2 separate regions of the Homo sapiens genome follow, and region 2 is linked to region 1. Evidence: promoter capture Hi-C in human tissues and cell types (Jung and others, 2019). All regions are on one chromosome and are shown on one strand. The core of a region is centred on a gene start or on the middle of the fragment in contact, and the rest is flanking DNA. Distances in the headings are between cores, read along the strand shown. Region 1 holds the start of LMAN2 (lectin, mannose binding 2). Region 2 overlaps NSD1 (nuclear receptor binding SET domain protein 1).

Region 1 (7,933 bases), core at 2,573-5,072:
TGAAAGGGGTTACGGTGGAGGTTGCTTTTGGGCCTGGACCATTGCCAATGGTGGTCTTAATAAGGTGTGTGACTGTTTCAATGTGCCTGTGGGGGTTGTAGGGTGTGTGATATGGGTGAAGACTTCCTGTCTGCTGTGCCATGGATCTGGGCCATTTCCTAGGTGGCTTTACAGTCCTAGTCCTCACAACCACTTTGTGAATGGTGCTTATTATTACCATTTCACAGATCAGGAAACTGAGGCTCAGAGAGAAGTGAGTTGCCCAAGGCTATACATCCTCTTAGAGATCTGCTAAGCTGTGAGTGTGCTTGGGGTGCCTGGAACTGGGCTTTGGCCACCACAGATGCCCACAGCTCATCTTCTTCCTGCCAAAGGACAGTCACAGTCTCTGCCTGGGACTCCCTTTGAAGTTCATACTCTCCTGCAGAGACACCTCTTCCCTTCTCTCCACCATGGATGCCAGTTCTAGCTCTGACCACATCTTCACCACAGCTAGCCCTGGCTGTTCCCATCTCTTAGCCCTTATCTAGTCTTCTCCATGCCATGAGAGTGGTGGAGTACCTCCACCCACAAAGCACCATCCTCGACTTCTCCCTTCCTGGCTGCCCACAGGGCATCAGTTCCTGATTTAGTCTCTGGCTGGGACTTCAGATCCTTCTTCTCTGTGAAGACCTCCTTGGCTTAGGCCTCACCCTCTCTCCCCCGATCATGATGAATCCAGTCTCCCTATTATCCCCGCTCCAATCTCTTCTCCTCACCATAGCTAGAGGAATCCACATTGGTCACTCCCATGCTTAGAAATATCCCATTGAGTTCTGGGAAAAGGCCATGTTCCTTACTTGGGAATTGAAGGCCCTTTGAGTTTTGGCTTCAGCTCCCCCGCAGCCCCCAACTCCAACTTCTCAGCCATTCCAAACTACTTGTATTTCATCTGCTCTCACACATCCCTCCCTAGATTGCAGCTCCTCTTCTCTCTGCTGAGAATGCCTTTACCTTTCCCGGAAAACTCCTACTCATTCTTCATGACCCAATTCCAGGTTCTAGAACAAATATTCATTCTTTCACCAGTTACTTATTAATCACCTCCTATGTGACAAGCACTATTCTAGATGCCAGGGATTCAGTAGTGACCATAGCTGACAAAAATCCCAGCCCCATGAAGGTCCCATGGAATGTGCATGTTTTTGTTTGTATGGGTGCAGATAAATCTCTGGAAGGGGACACTCCTTGCGAGGGGAGTGGCAGAAGACTTTTGTTGTGTCTTTTCTTTTCTTTTCTTTTCTTTTTTTGAGATGGAGTTTCACTCTTGTTGCCCAGGCTGGAGTGCAATGGCACAATTTTGGCTCACTGCAACCTCCGCTTCCTGGGTTCGAGTGATTCTCCTGCCTCAGCCTCCTGAGTAGCTGGGATTATAGGTACCCGCCACCATGGCCGGCTAATTTTTTGTATTTTTAGTAGAAACAGGGTTTCACAATGTTGGCCAGGGTAGTCTCGAACTCCTGACCTCAAGTGATCCACCTGCCTTGGCCTCCCAAAGTGCTGGGATTACAGGTGTGAGCCACCATGCCTGGCTTGTTGTGTCTTGTATGTCTGTTCTCTCTCTGTTTCCATACACACCACAAGAATGTGTGACTTTTTTGAGACAGAGTCTCACTCTGTCACTCAGGCTGGAGTGCAGTGGCAAGATCTTGGCTCACTGCAACCTCCACCTCCCAGGTGCAAGTGATGCTCGTGCCTCAGCCTCCTGAGTAGCTGGGATTACAAGTGTGCACCACCACACCCAGCTAATTTTTTGTAGAGACAGGGTTTCGCTATGTTGGCCAGGCTGGTCTCGAACTCCTAGCCTCAAGTGATCCACCCACCTCGGCCTCCCAAACTACTGGGATTACAGGTGTGAGCCACCGTGCCTGACCAGAATGTGTGACTTTAATAATAAAAAAGCGAACGAAAAATATATGACCAAGAAAAGATTCAGCACTCAATCCTGAATAAGTCCATTCATTCAAGAGGGCAGTTTCTAAAAGGAGCAAGCAACCAACATCCCTCCCTGTGATCTACAACAGGAGTCATTGATTCAAATGTCTGGAGGAGCCAGGCAAGTGCTGTAAACGAGTGACCAGGTGGGGACCAGCTTAGAAGAGGAAGGCATTGGTGGAGGGGCAGTCCCATTCAGCTCCAGCCTATTGTTCTGTTGTGGGAATGTGTGCCTAGATCTTTTGCTGCTGCTTCTTTTTTTTTTTTTTTGGGTAAAAAAACGGAAGTCTGGATTTCTTTTCTTCTTCTTCTTCTTCTTTTTTTTTTTTTTTGTAGAGACAGAGTCTTGCTCTGTCGCCCCGGCTGGAATGCAATGGCGTGATCTCTGCTCACTGCAACCTCTGCCTCCTGGGTTCAAGCAATTCTCCTGCCTCAGCCTCCCGAGTAGCTGGGACTACAGGTGTCCGCCACCACGCCGTTAATTTCTTTTGTATTTTAGTAGAGACGGGGTTTCACCGTGTTGCCCAGGCTGGTCTGAAACTCCTGAGCTCAGGTAATCTGCTCGCCTCTGCCTCCCAAAGTGCTAGGATTACAGGCCTCAGCCACTGAGCTCAGCCGGAAGTCTGGATTTCTGATGTGAATGTACATATTCCGACTTTGTGTGTGTGTGTGTGTGTGTGTGTGTGTGTGTGTGTGTGTGTGACAGAGTCTCGCTCTGTCGCCCAGGCTGGAGTGCAGTGACGCGATTTCGGCTCACTGCAAGCTCTGCCTCCTGGGTTCAAGCCATTCTCCTGGCTCAGCCTCCCGAGTAGCTGGGACTACAGACACCTGCCACCACGCCCGGCTAATTTTTTGTATTTTTTAGTAGAGACGGGGTTTCACCGTGCTAGCCAGGATGGTCTCGATCTCCCGATCTCGTGATCCGCCGGCCTCAGCCTCCCAAAGTGCTGGGATTACAGGCGTGAGCCACCACGCCCAGCCTCTATATTCTGACTTTAAAATACTGGTAGTTAAGCCATTTATTAGAATATTGGCAGGTAAAACAGAGCTCTATTCAGCTGCAGGCCACCAGTTTTCGACCTCTGATTCACAGCTTTCCTGGGCCTTCCATGGACGTTACTTGCTGTACCAGGCACTGCGCTCTTTTGCATAGGGATGAGTTCCAGTCATCACTGGGGTCCCAGGCCAGGATCTGTGTCTGTTCCTCTTGCTTCAACCCGACTAGGCCTGAGGAGTTGAGGGTAGTGGAGGCCCTCAAATAATTGGGAATTCTGAGTCTCCAAAGGCGCGAAGCTGGGGCGCCTGACGGCAGGCACGGCTTAAAGGCTTGCCCAGGGCCACCCGGGGAGGACAAGGGTTGGAATGCAGGACTCCGCCTTCAATTCAGAGCTCCTTTCTCCAGGACTAGAAAAGGTTATTCCAGAGACGGGACTTGCGGCCAGAAGCCCAAGACGTCCTAGTCTTCGCGAATCCGCCCCATTAGAGCGACCGACAAAAACTACAAATTCCAGCATGCCCCGAGTCGCGGACGGCCCTCGCGCTCCCGCCGGCTCCAACCATCCCTCTGCTCCTCATTGGCTCGCAAGCCTAACGTGCTGTTCCGTGACTGGTTACAGCTCTTGTCGCTCGAAAGAACCCATTGCTGGGGCTGGCCGGCGTGTGCCTTGGAGCCTCTAAGGAGATGAAACTGCACTCAACCAGGATGAGAGGCTGCCCGGCCAATGCAGCTGCCGCCCCGTCTGCTGCGGAGGCTTTGCTTTTTGACTCCCTGGCGACAGTAAAGTTGAAGAGCTTCCGGCCGGAGGCCAATAGATGGGACCCCCGGAAGGCGGAAGTTCTAGGGCGGAAGTGGCCGAGAGGAGAGGAGAATGGCGGCGGAAGGCTGGATTTGGCGTTGGGGCTGGGGCCGGCGGTGCCTGGGAAGGCCTGGGCTTCTCGGCCCCGGCCCTGGCCCCACTACACCTCTCTTTCTTCTTTTGTTGTTGGGGTCTGTGACTGCGGATATAACTGACGGCAACAGTGAACATCTCAAGCGGGAGCATTCGCTCATTAAGCCCTACCAAGGTGAAGCCCTTGGGGCGGGAATGAGTGAAGAGTGAGGGCGAGGCTGAACAGGGCTAGGGGAAGGCGTGCCCTTTCTCCTGAGCAGAGCATCTCTGTGGGTTTCCTGCCTCTGGTGAGGCCAGTCCTGGCGTGGCCTCTTAGCACCTGTCTCTTCCCACAGGGGTCGGTTCCAGCTCTATGCCCCTCTGGGACTTCCAGGGCAGCACTATGCTCACGAGCCAGTACGTACGTCTGACCCCTGACGAGCGCAGCAAAGAGGGCTCTATCTGGAACCACCAGGTGAGTGGTTCTCAAGAGGATAGGCGTACTGTGCGGTTGGCTGCTAGTCCCTGCCTCCCGAGCAGCTGAGACCCCAGCTTCGTTTATAGGTTTGCACCTCCGTCCCTGGCCTTTTCCTCATCTCGGTCACACCCACCAATAATAAGAGGCGATGGGTATTGGGTACTTACTATGTGTCAGGAGCTGCGCTTGACACTTTACATCCTCCTCACTTTAAAAGCCATGCGAGATGAGTAATGTTATCTCCATTTTACCCACTGAGAAGCTAAGACTCAGGTTTGAAAGGGCCTTACCCAAAGTTACATAGCCAGAAAGTAGTGGAACTGTCAGGCTGTCTGCCTTGAACCCCCTCAGTAATGGGAAGAACCGAGCGAACTGGATCTTTATTGGGTGTTTTGCTGTGTATTAGGCACTGACCTTGCCATGCCTTATTGCATTTAATTTTCAAACAAGCTGTTTGAAATAGATGGCTTTCATGACTATACAAAGATAACCCAGCTAGCAAATGTCATAAACAGTATTTAAACTCTGATTTGTCTGATCTCTAAGCCCAGCAGTTCACTCGATGTACTTGACTCTTTTCACCTGGACAGTGGAGGAACCCCTTAGAACCCTTTTTGCAATGCTTGGTTGAGGGTCTTGTCATCAGTAGTGTGGAGGGACTGGACCTGTGGGCAGTTCTAGTGTCTGTGACCTTTGCCTCAGAGTATGTAGTATGTAGTATGTGAGCAGTGGCCAATGACAGCTGCTACACAGAATCCACACTGAGGCAGTCAAGGTGAGGAAAAAGGGGAAAGAAGAATAATTTGGGGCTGGGTTACAGCTTGGAGCGGGACCTGCTCCTGCCCCAGCTTGCCTAATCTCAGCCCTTCCCATGGCTTAAGCTGTTGGCCAGTGTTCTAGTTTTCTCCATCACCCTGCTCTCTGATCCCTGCTGGTTGACTTTCTTGTTTAGTTCTGGGAACCCACACTGTCCTTGTGTTGCCTGGTCTGCCCGTCCCCTCTGCTCCTCCTCTCCTTCCTGCCCCGAGCCTCCACACTGCTGTTAGTGGCATCTGCGGATACTTTCTTCAGCTTTCAGTCTGATCCTCAGAGCGTGGAGTCCCCTGTGAAGGGGTAAGCATGCATTATGTCTGCACAATCTGGCCCCTTGTGCATCTCCAGTCATTCTCTGTGTTAATTTTGTTCCAGCCCCCCCTGGCTGCCTTCTTGCCTCAGGACCTTTGCACCTGTTGTTCCCTCTGTCTGGGACACTGCCTCCTGGCTCCTCATGCCTGCTTGGTTCCTTCTCATCTGTTAAGTCTCAATTCAAGTGCCACCCACGCAGACATTTCTTCATTAACCACCCTATCTCCCCCGAGTCACATTCTGTCACATTCTGTCTTAGGGCTTTCAGATATTTTAAAGAAATGATAATTCAGCCTTATATTTTTCATGGAAATGAGTTCAGTATAGCATTATTATTATTTTTTGAAAGCAAGGTGCAAACAGTGCTGGAACTGTAGAAATCAGGAGTAGCCACAAGTAATAGACGCATCTAAGACAGTGGCTTACATTTTGGTTGTAGATAGCTGATGGTTGGCATCATCAGTGGCTCGAGGATGTCACAGGACTGAGAGGCTTCTGCACTTGCCTTCATCGAATTTTCAGTCTGGAGTACAATTGTTTTGCCTTCCTTCCTCCACCTTTCTATTTGGCTCTGCTGATATTCCTGAAACATTTGGAGTGCTTCCTGTAAACTCTGGAAAGAAATGGCTTGGAAATCAGAATTTTCTGTTCAGTGTTTCCCAAGAACTGCCTCTTCCTTTAATGAGCTGGAGAGATGCTTCCTAAACTTTTCCCTTTTTTATCTCCTTCATTCACTCCATCCGGGAGAGGCATGCACTCAGGCGAACATTCCCTGAACACCTGCTGTCTTCTGAGCAGCCATAAAATAGCTCCTGCTGTGGTGCAGGGGGGGTGGTCTAGATGAAGGAGTGGCTCAGAGTTGACTAGAACTCTTAAGTGCCTGGTGGCTGCAGCATAGGACCTGGGGAGGCTGCTCAGGCCCTGTCCTTTTGGGGGTCTTGTGCGGAGGCTGCGGCAGTGGTCTTTAAGCTTTCTTTGCTGTTGTAGCAACCTTTTGAAAAGTTGGCATCAAAAATTGTTTGTCATTAGGTTTAAGTATTTGCAAAGGATGACAGCATATTTTAAATATTGACATTTTAAACTAAAACTGTTCAGTATTTTAAACATTCAGTGGAATCTAAATATTGCAATTTGATATCCACTTTTTTTTTTTTTTTTTTTGAGACGGAGTCTTGTTCTGTCACCCAGGCTGGAGGGCAGTGGCGCAGTCTCGGCTCACTGCAACTTCCGCCTTCCTGGTTCAAGTGATTCTCCTGCCTCAGCCCCCTGAGTAGCTGGAATTACAGGTGTGCACCACCACGCCCAGCTAGTTTTTGTGTTTTTAGTAGAGGTTTTTTTTTTTTTTTTTTTTTTTTTTGAGACAGAGTCATGCTCTATCACCCAGGCTGGAATGCAGTGGTGCGATCTCAGCTCACTGCAACCTCCACCTCACGAGTTCAAGCGATTCTTCTGCCTCAGCCTCCCCAGTAGCTGGGATTACAGGCGCGCACTGCCATGTCCAGCTAATTTTTTGTATTTTTAGTAGAGATGAGGTTTTGCCATGTTTGCGAGGCTGGTCTCCGACTCCTGGCCTCAAGTGATCTGCCCACCTCGGCCTCCCAAAGTGCTAGGATTACAGGTGTGAGCCACTGTGCCTGGCCAGTATGTCAGTTTTTTAATTGAACTTGTACTTTCATTTCCACACAGAATATTATCCTAATGCAATATATTTAATGCTTGAAAATGTTATTCATTAGCCTACCATATTCTTCTGCAAGTAAAATTAATATAATAATTTAAACTTTTCAATTTTGTTGAGACTGAAACTTTTAATATTTTGTTTGAGATTATTATAATTATCTGTACACACTTGATAAAAGTAAATGCATTACACAGTTTTTGAGTAATTATACAAAAGTAAACATTTTTTGAAACATGAGATCTCAGTAGGATGTCACCCCCCACCCCCATCTGGATGGATAATACTGTCAGAATAAGACAAGTTCAGTACCACTTCTACTTTTTGTTTTTATGTACATGAATTCTGAGAAACTGTGTTCTCTTAAATAGTAGTTGGAGATGGGGTTATTTTTAAAATTTTAAATTTCTATTATAGATGGGATCTTACTATGTTGCCCAGTCTTATCTTGAACTCTTGGACTCAAGCAATCTTCCCACCTCAGCCTCTGAGTATCTGGGACACAGGTGCTCACCACCACTGTGCCTGGCACAGCGGGAGTTTTGGTAGAGCAGCATCACTGAATATTTTGATCTTCTTTTGGTTTATAAACCCAACGTCATGCAGTGATCTTTTATCAAAATTTTTGATGATGTTTCGGCTGACTGTTGATTACATCTGCATTCCGTTTCGTTGCAAGCAGAGATGTGGAAACTGCTGAACTGTAAAATAGCCTCTTATTGCCAGGTGATTCTGATGTAGTTGGCCTGGTGTAGGACCAAGGCATTAAGCTTTCTGAGCTCCCCAGGTGGGTTTGCTGTGGGTTAAGAA
Region 2 (7,933 bases), core at 2,558-5,057, 85 kb after region 1:
AAGAGAAAACCGGGTTCGAAGTTGATTGGACCACCTGGTAAGCAGTAAAACTAGTTCTGCTTATAACAGGGCACCCTGCCTTCATTGCTAGGCCAGTTTACAAAACTTTATTTTGATTCAGAGCATTTATGCTTTGACCTTTACTAGTTTGTTCTACAATATCTGGTGAATTTTACTTCTTCCCAACGAGCTCAAGACAAGACAAGACAAGACAAGACAAGACAAGACTCCTTGGAGCAAATGTAGCTCTGCTAGAGATCTGAGCCTCTGTCTAGCAAACTGAAGTGTTTCTTCTATGAAATAGTTTCAGAACTCCATTATTTGATGGAATGCTGACAAAACAACTGATAAGTCAAAAAAAAGCTCAAGGAAATTCAAATTAAGTAAAGGTTAAGGCTCAAAAATAATGAGTTACATGGGTCAACTTCCTTGCAAAATACTGTATTTGCAGCCAGATAATGCCCTGAGAGGACAAAGGCAGTTTCAAAATGGAGCATATGTGAATTCTAAAACAGATCAGACACTCAGGTAACAGAGGTCTGTGTTTGCCTGAGAAACAAAAAGGATAAAGTTACCTTTTTTATATGTCCCATCCACTCCTTTGCCCATCTTATCCTTGCTGCTCACGTCACCCTCCATGTAAGGGAAGACTCGGGCCTGGTGAGTCCACAAATAGTCATTAGATCCAAAAAAGAGGACTGGGAACTCTCCCACATCATGTCTCATCTTATCAATGTTGGAAGGAACAGCTCGAGGATGGCAGATCTCAGCTGGCCACCACCTGGGAAAGGTGAAAAGGAGAAGGAAAACCTCTAGAAGGCTGCAAGGCATTAGGAAAATAACCTACTCATATAAAAGTAAGGATTAGCAATGTCTGTCTGTCCACATTAAAGTCCATCTTACGGCATTCTTACAACCTAACTAGAACACAAACAAGTCGTATGTGCTAGAAGCTGGAAAACATCTGCCCACATTCCCACACAGGCGCGCACTCCCTTAGACTCAATTATTCTACTTCAAGGATTCTACTTAAAGGAAATAATGATATAGGAACAGAGAGTTATGACAATAACATTCACTGAAGCATTATAAGAAGGAAAAACTGGAAAAAGTATAAATGCTCAACATCAAGAAAATAATAGTATTATCCATGGTACACTATACAAAATAAAATACAATTTGGTCTTTAAAAAGGAAACCTTCAATAATTAGTAGGAATATGGGAGAACAGCACCAAGAAATCAAAACACAAACACATACAAACAAAATCAAAGAATGTAAATTACTATACAGCCACTTTAGGGAGACAATTTGGCACTACCTATTAAAGCTGGAAACCTCTATCTACCTACTTTACTCCAGAGAATGCCCTAGAGAAGGCCCTAAGTATATAAACCAAATATATACTTGTATATAAGTATATACTTATATTCAAGGTCCCAAGTATATAAACCAAGAAAAACTGACCAAATGTTCACAGTCCAAACAGGAAAATGGATAAGTGAACTAGACATTATGTGACTACATAAAGGAACAGTGAACTATGAATGAACCACTATACAATACTATGATGAATCTCAGGGGCATAAAAGTGAATGAAAAAAGTTGCAGGAAAATGTATCAACAATAATTCCTTTACATAAAGGTCTAAAACACAGCAAAGAAAACAAACTCTCACAGAAGGGCGAAGGAATGAAAAACCTAGAATTGAGTACAGTGGTTACCTCTGGGGGTAGGAGAGAATGGAATCAGGGCATGGAATAAACCTCAAAAGTACCAACAGTGTTCTATTTCTTTAAGTGGGAGGTACATACACAGGTGCCACTTTTGTCATTCTTTAAAGTCATGCATGTTACATCCTTTGTGCTTTCCATATTCAATCAAAATATATTTTTTAATTTTATTATTATTATACTTTAAGTTTTAGGGTACATGTGCACAACGTGGTTTGTTACATATGTATACATGTGCCATGTTGGTGTGCTGCACCCATTAACTCGTCATTTAGCATTAGGTATATCTCCTAATGCTATCCCTCCCCCCACCCCCCACCCCACAACAGTTCCCGGTGTGTGATGTTCAATCAAAATATTTTAAAAAAGAAAAAGTGGCCGGGTGCAGTGGCATGTACCTGTAGTCTCAGCTACTCAGGAGGCTGAGGCGGCAGGATCCCTTAAGCCCAGGAGTTTGAAGTTGCAGTGAGCAATGATCACACCACTGCACTCCAGACTGGGTGACAGAGGATACCCTGTCTCAAAACAAACAACCCAAGACACATAACAGAGTATAATCTGTAAAAACAGTTATTTTGGATGGTGGGGGGCATAACTGCGTATTGGTACGTCTGGGAGTACATATGCCGAAATGTTAACAATGCGCCTGCCTTGTGAGATTATTACTGTCTTTTCATTTAAAAAAAAAAAAAAAAACTTTTCACAAAATACACAAAAGAAAAAAAAATTTCGACAGAGAACATGTATTATTCCTATAATTGTAAATCATAAAGTTAGGTTTCTCTTCCTATAAGGAAAAAAATCAAGAAGAAGAGGGGAGGAGTACCATGAGTAATTAAGTAGATCATTAGAAATACGTTAAGCATTGTATCTGAGAGGTCTCAAGAAACAGAGGATGGTAAAAGAGATGAGTGCTATTCTTCAGGCTTACCTGTATCGTCCAACTTTTACCCAGACAATCTCCCTGTAGTGTGGCTTTTTGCCTGCTTTACAGTCATTGCAATACCAGTTTCCTTCAGGGATATCAATGTTCAGGCATTCACGATGAAAAGCAGCAGGGCAAGAATCACAGCACAGAAGGCTGCCTCCTGTGGGAATAAAAAAATGTGGCATTCAGATCACAAGACTGCAAGTCATGTATGTGTACATCCATACACATATATATATATATTTTCTTTCTCTTCACTAAAAGATATACTAAATAAAAACATTATCAGTGACACATAATGACCAGAGTATAAACAGCATAAGCTTTATTTAACTCTCGTCAGGTTCAGGTTGGAATTCTAGCTCTAGGACCACAGGCCCTTGGGAAATTCACTTTCCTTGCTGAGCTATAATTTCCTCAGCGGTAAGGAGTTTTCTCTAATAAACAATAACCACATCTGTTTGAAGATTCACCTAGCTAATAAATTACCTAGTAGCGTCTGACACATAAGTAGTATCTCCATATGGTTAGTTCCTTCCCTCCTTTTAGAACTACTAACTTTTCGGCTGGGCACAGTGCCTCAGGCCTGTAATCCCAGCACTTTGGAAGGCTGCAGCAGGTGGATCACCTGAGGTCAGGAGTTAGAGAACAGCCCGGCCAACAGGGCGAAACCCCCTATCTACTAAAAAATTAGCCACGCGTGGTGGCACATGCCTGTATTCCCAGCTACTCGGGAGGCTAAGACAGGAGAATTGCTTGAACCTGGGAGGCGGAAGTTGCAGTGAGCCAAGACAGCACCACTGCACTCCAGCCAGGGTGACAGCAAGGCTCTTGCCTCAAATAAATAAATATATAAATGCTTTCAAAACACAGTAGTTTCAGCAGACGGGCAGGCATTTTATTTTGTTGCCAAAAAGAAATGAGCCACGCTCTTGCCAGAAATGAGCATGATTCAAACATGCTAGACTCAAACATGTAATTCCAAGTTTTACCCTGAAGTGGGGAGTAAAGCCTTAGCAAAGAATATATCCGAGTTAATCTTGTTCTCACTGTGCTTCTTTCACCTCTTAAAATCCTACTATAGAAAAAGGCGGGGGTCTTGGCGGCCGGAAGAGGAGTAGGTGCGGGTGAAGATGGCGGCCGCCGAGGTCGTGAACTGCATCATGGAGGTGTCCTGTGGCCAGGCGGAAAGCAGCGAGAAGCCGAACGTCGAGGGCATGACGTCCAAAGATTACTACTTTGACTCCTACGCCCACTTCGGCAACTCCATGTTTCACAACCGCCACCTCTTTAAAGACAAGGTGGTGCTGGATGTGGGCTCGGACACAAGCATCCTCTGCATGTTCGCCGCCAAGGCCGGGCCCGCAAGGTCATCGGCATCGAGTGTTCCAGTAGCTCTGATTATGCGGTGAAGATTGTCAAAGCCAACAAGTTAGACCACTTGGTGACCATCACCAAGGGGAAGGTGGAGGAGATAGAGCTCCCGGTGGAAAAGGTGAACATCATCATCAGCAAGTGGATGGGCTAACTGCCTCTTCTACGAGTCCATGCTCAACACTGTGCTCTATGCCCGGACAAGTGGCTGGCGCCCAATAGCCTCATCTTCCCAGAACGGGCCACACTGTATGTGACGGCCACCGAGGACCGGCAGTACAAAGACTACAAGATCCACTGGTGGGAGAACGTTTATGGCTTCGATATATCTTGCATCAAAGATGTGGCCATCAAGGAAACCCTAGTGGATGTGGTGGACCTCAAACAGCTGGTTACCAACGCCTGCCTCATAAAGGAGGTAGACATCTACACCGTCAAGGTGGAAGACCTGACCTTCACCTCCCCGTTCTGCCTGCAAGTGAAGCAGAATGACTACGTGCACACCCAGGTGGCCTACTTCAACATCGAGTTTACGCACTGCCACAAGAGGACCGGAGGGACCGGCTTCTCCACCATACCCGAGTCCCTGTACACGCACTGGAAGCAGACGGTGTTCTACATGGAGGACTACCTGACCTTGAAGACGGGCGAGGAGATCTTCGGCACCATCGGCATGCGGCCCAACGCCAAGAACTGGGACCGGGACTTCACCATCAACCTAGATTTCAGGGGCCATCTGTGCGACCTGTCCTGCTCCACAGACTACAGGATGTGCTGAGGCCCGGCTCTCCCGCCCTGCACGGGCCCAGGGGCTGAGCATTCCTAGACGGTTGTGGGGCTCCCCCTTCCTCTCTCTCTCCCTCCCTCCCCCAGAGGAGGTTTTAGGGGCCTGGGCTGGGGGGATGGGGAGGGCACATCATGACTGTTTTTCATAACTTATGTTTTTAGATGGCTGCATTTATGCCAATAAATCTTCAGCTGGGAAACAAAAAAAATTCTTACTATAAACATACTTCTGTTGGCACTTTATATATAATTTATTCCCATGCTGACTTTTGCTTTTTTTTTTTAACAGTCCAGAGGTCTTTTATTTTTTTTAACACCTATGATGCCATGAATTCATAGGGAATAGGTTCCAGCAGCTCAGACTCCTTCCCATTGGTTCTCACAAAGTATGCTTCTCTGAGTGGAGCAAGCTAGTGCTTCAGTTGAACCCAGGTTAACTTTCTCTTTGGCTTCTTTTTCTGATCATTTTCCTTCACATGTTTCAGGAAGCTATCTTGGCTCTTAGGAGTGCTTAATGTGCTCAATATGCACATGAAATCTCTTGGCAAGAATCTTGCCCTTGTTTGTTTACAACAATGCCAACAGCATGCTGGGTAACACTGTAGACTCTTCCAGTTTTGCCATGATAACACTTGTGGGGCATTCCTTTTTGAAGAGTACCCATTCCTTTGATGTCTACAATATCACCTTTCTTATAGATTCGCATATATGCGGCCAAAGGAACAACTCCATGTTTTCTAAAAGGCCTACAGAACATGTACTGGGTGCCTCTCCTCTTTCCCTTTGTGTTTGTCATTTTGGCGAATTACAGGAAGATGGCAGTTTCGGCCAAAAGGGCCTTTACTTAATAATTCTCTTCAACAAGCTCTTAAAATAAGAGTGGGAGTTTTATTTGTTTTTGTTGGGGCCAGGGGTGTGTTTCAGATCAGACTCCTACTTCAACTGGAAAAGCTCACTTTTGTCTGTATTGTATAGTGAAGCTCAGATTCAGAGTAAGATTACATTTGGAAATGTGTCTGCTGCTAAAAAACAAGTCTGAAGAACAATTATGTTGCAATATGTTATTTGTTTGACATACGTGAAGAAAGTATGGCCTCTCAGAGATATATTGCTGGAAAAGAGTGCTAAAATAACCTGTTCAGAACTGTGGATATTCATTCTTAGATACTATGCTAAAACTCCACAGTGTATAGTTGCAATGTGGAAACTGAAACTATGTCACTAAACTTAAAATGACTACACTAAAATTCATTGATCTGTCTTCTATTTTGAATGCATCTTTTACATATGCAAAGTTTTTAACATCATGCATTAGCTATATTAAAAATATTGCCTCATCTCTACTAAAAATACAAAAAATTAGCTGGGCATAGTGGCACATGCCTGTAGTCCCAGCTACTCAGGAGGCTAAGGCAGGAGGATCGCTTGAACCCGGGAGGTGGGGGTTGCAGTGAGCCAAGATAGCGCCACTGCACTCCAGCCTGACGACACAGCCAGACTCCATCTCAAAAAAAAAAAAAAAAAAAAAAAAAATTGGTTCATTGAGTCATATGCATCTTCTAAATGGCCTATTTCATTATACTTTTAAAATCACATTTATTAATACTACCATGATCCAATCAGTAAGTACTAAGAAATTGTCAAACTGAAGGTAGCAGACAATAGTTTACGAAAATTTTAATTTTCACTTAAAAGCTCAAATTTTATCATTCGCCATTATTTTGCAGTTCTTTTTCTTGAATTGATAGGCTCACAGTTGTTCATTTTCAAGTAAATGTCTGCCAAATATCCAAGCATGAATAACCATAGTTTATCAGTAACTCTTACAATTAAAAACGGTGTTCCATGAACAATGTGGATAGTTCAGCTTGAAACTCAGTTGCATGAGTGCTTTAACTCAAGATAACCATCAGTATGCAAAGAAACTGCTTTACGTGTACTTCCCACTTCATCACAGAGAATAGAAAAACAATGTTGACTTCATGGACAAGATATAATAAAACTAAGGTGTTTTACTTCAAGAAACTTCTAAGGTGAAACTGCCATGCTTTTACTGCGAGTAGGTGATGATACAGAACACGATGACTGCTTACTTGTATTGGTTTGGAGGTAGTGCCTTGGTTTATACTAAGGTGGCAGCAGTTTTACCAATCCATTGACTGTGTACTAGCTGTCAGATTTCAACTAAGTAAAAAAAGCTTCCAGAATTAACTAAACTCCAGTCTTTGGCTACAGAAACAATATATCTCAAGTAAGGAAAATTCTTCTTTTACAGAATTATTGGCATATACATACACCTGATAATACAAATCTCCTTAGTGATGTGAATTCAAAATATGTCAGACAAGTCTCAACCAATTTAGAAAGTTTATTTTGCCAAGGTGACGATCACGTCCATGACACAACCTCAGGAGATCCTGGCAACATGTGCCTAAGGTGGTGGGGGTACAGCTTGCTTTTATATATTTTAGGGAGATAAGAGACATCAGTATGTGTAACATTGTCATTGGTTCTGATAGGGGGTTGGGGTTCCAGGTCATAAGTAGGTAAAAGACAAAAGGTTGCATTCTTTTGAATCCTTCATCAGCCTTTCACTGAATACACAATTTAATCTGGCTCAGTGAAACTGCATTTTTACATAAATAGGGCAGAGGAAGCAATGAGGTACGCATTTGTCTCAGATGAGCATAGGGATGACTTTCTGTCCCACACCTGTGAAGATAAGCTATCGGTTTCCATTGCCAGGGTGAAATTCAACAGAACAGAGCAATTCTCCTGCCTCAGCTTCCCAAGTAGCTGGGATTACAGGTGTCTGCCATCACGCCTGGCTAAGTTTTGTATTTTTAGCAGAGATGGGGTTTCGCCATGTTGGCCAGGCTGGTCTCGAACTCCTGACCTCAGGTGATCCGCCTGCCTCAGCCTCCCAAAGTGCTGGGATTAGAGGCATGAGCCATGGCGCCCAGCCTTGTAGCTGTATTATTGAGGAATAAAATGGGAGGCAGGTTTGCCTGATGTAGTTCCAAGCTTGACTTTTCCCTTGGCTTAGTGATTTGGGCCTCCTGGGATTTATTTTCCTTTCACAGTGGTATCTATTTTTTTGGTTGTTTTTTGT

The links. The method cuts DNA at HindIII sites, captures the fragments that hold promoters and counts their contacts. A contact is called where the count stands out against the background at its distance.
Region 2: a contact is called between a fragment that was not itself captured here and the fragment with the promoter of LMAN2 in region 1, in 5 of the 25 tissues and cell types used here (IMR-90 fibroblasts, bladder, dorsolateral prefrontal cortex and 2 more).

Annotation. Positions count from the first base shown.
Region 1 is chr5:177,347,557-177,355,489 of GRCh38, reverse strand. LMAN2 (lectin, mannose binding 2) reads left to right here and starts at 3,822. Exons shown (of 8, transcript NM_006816.3): 1 at 3,822-4,038; 2 at 4,199-4,317. The coding sequence starts at 3,843. RefSeq lists enhancers at 3,632-3,681, 3,692-3,881 and a silencer at 3,523-3,737. The HindIII fragment of the contact is 12,408 bases long and covers 1-7,154 here.
Region 2 is chr5:177,262,450-177,270,382 of GRCh38, reverse strand. NSD1 (nuclear receptor binding SET domain protein 1) reads right to left here. Exons shown (of 23, transcript NM_022455.5): 15 at 2,665-2,821; 16 at 576-781. It also overlaps the pseudogene RPL21P60 and the pseudogene PRMT1P1. Among named protein-coding and RNA genes, the nearest start is that of RAB24, 37 kb to the left of the region's middle. RefSeq lists enhancers at 1-941, 3,442-4,333, 4,334-5,226. The HindIII fragment of the contact is 7,250 bases long and covers 183-7,432 here.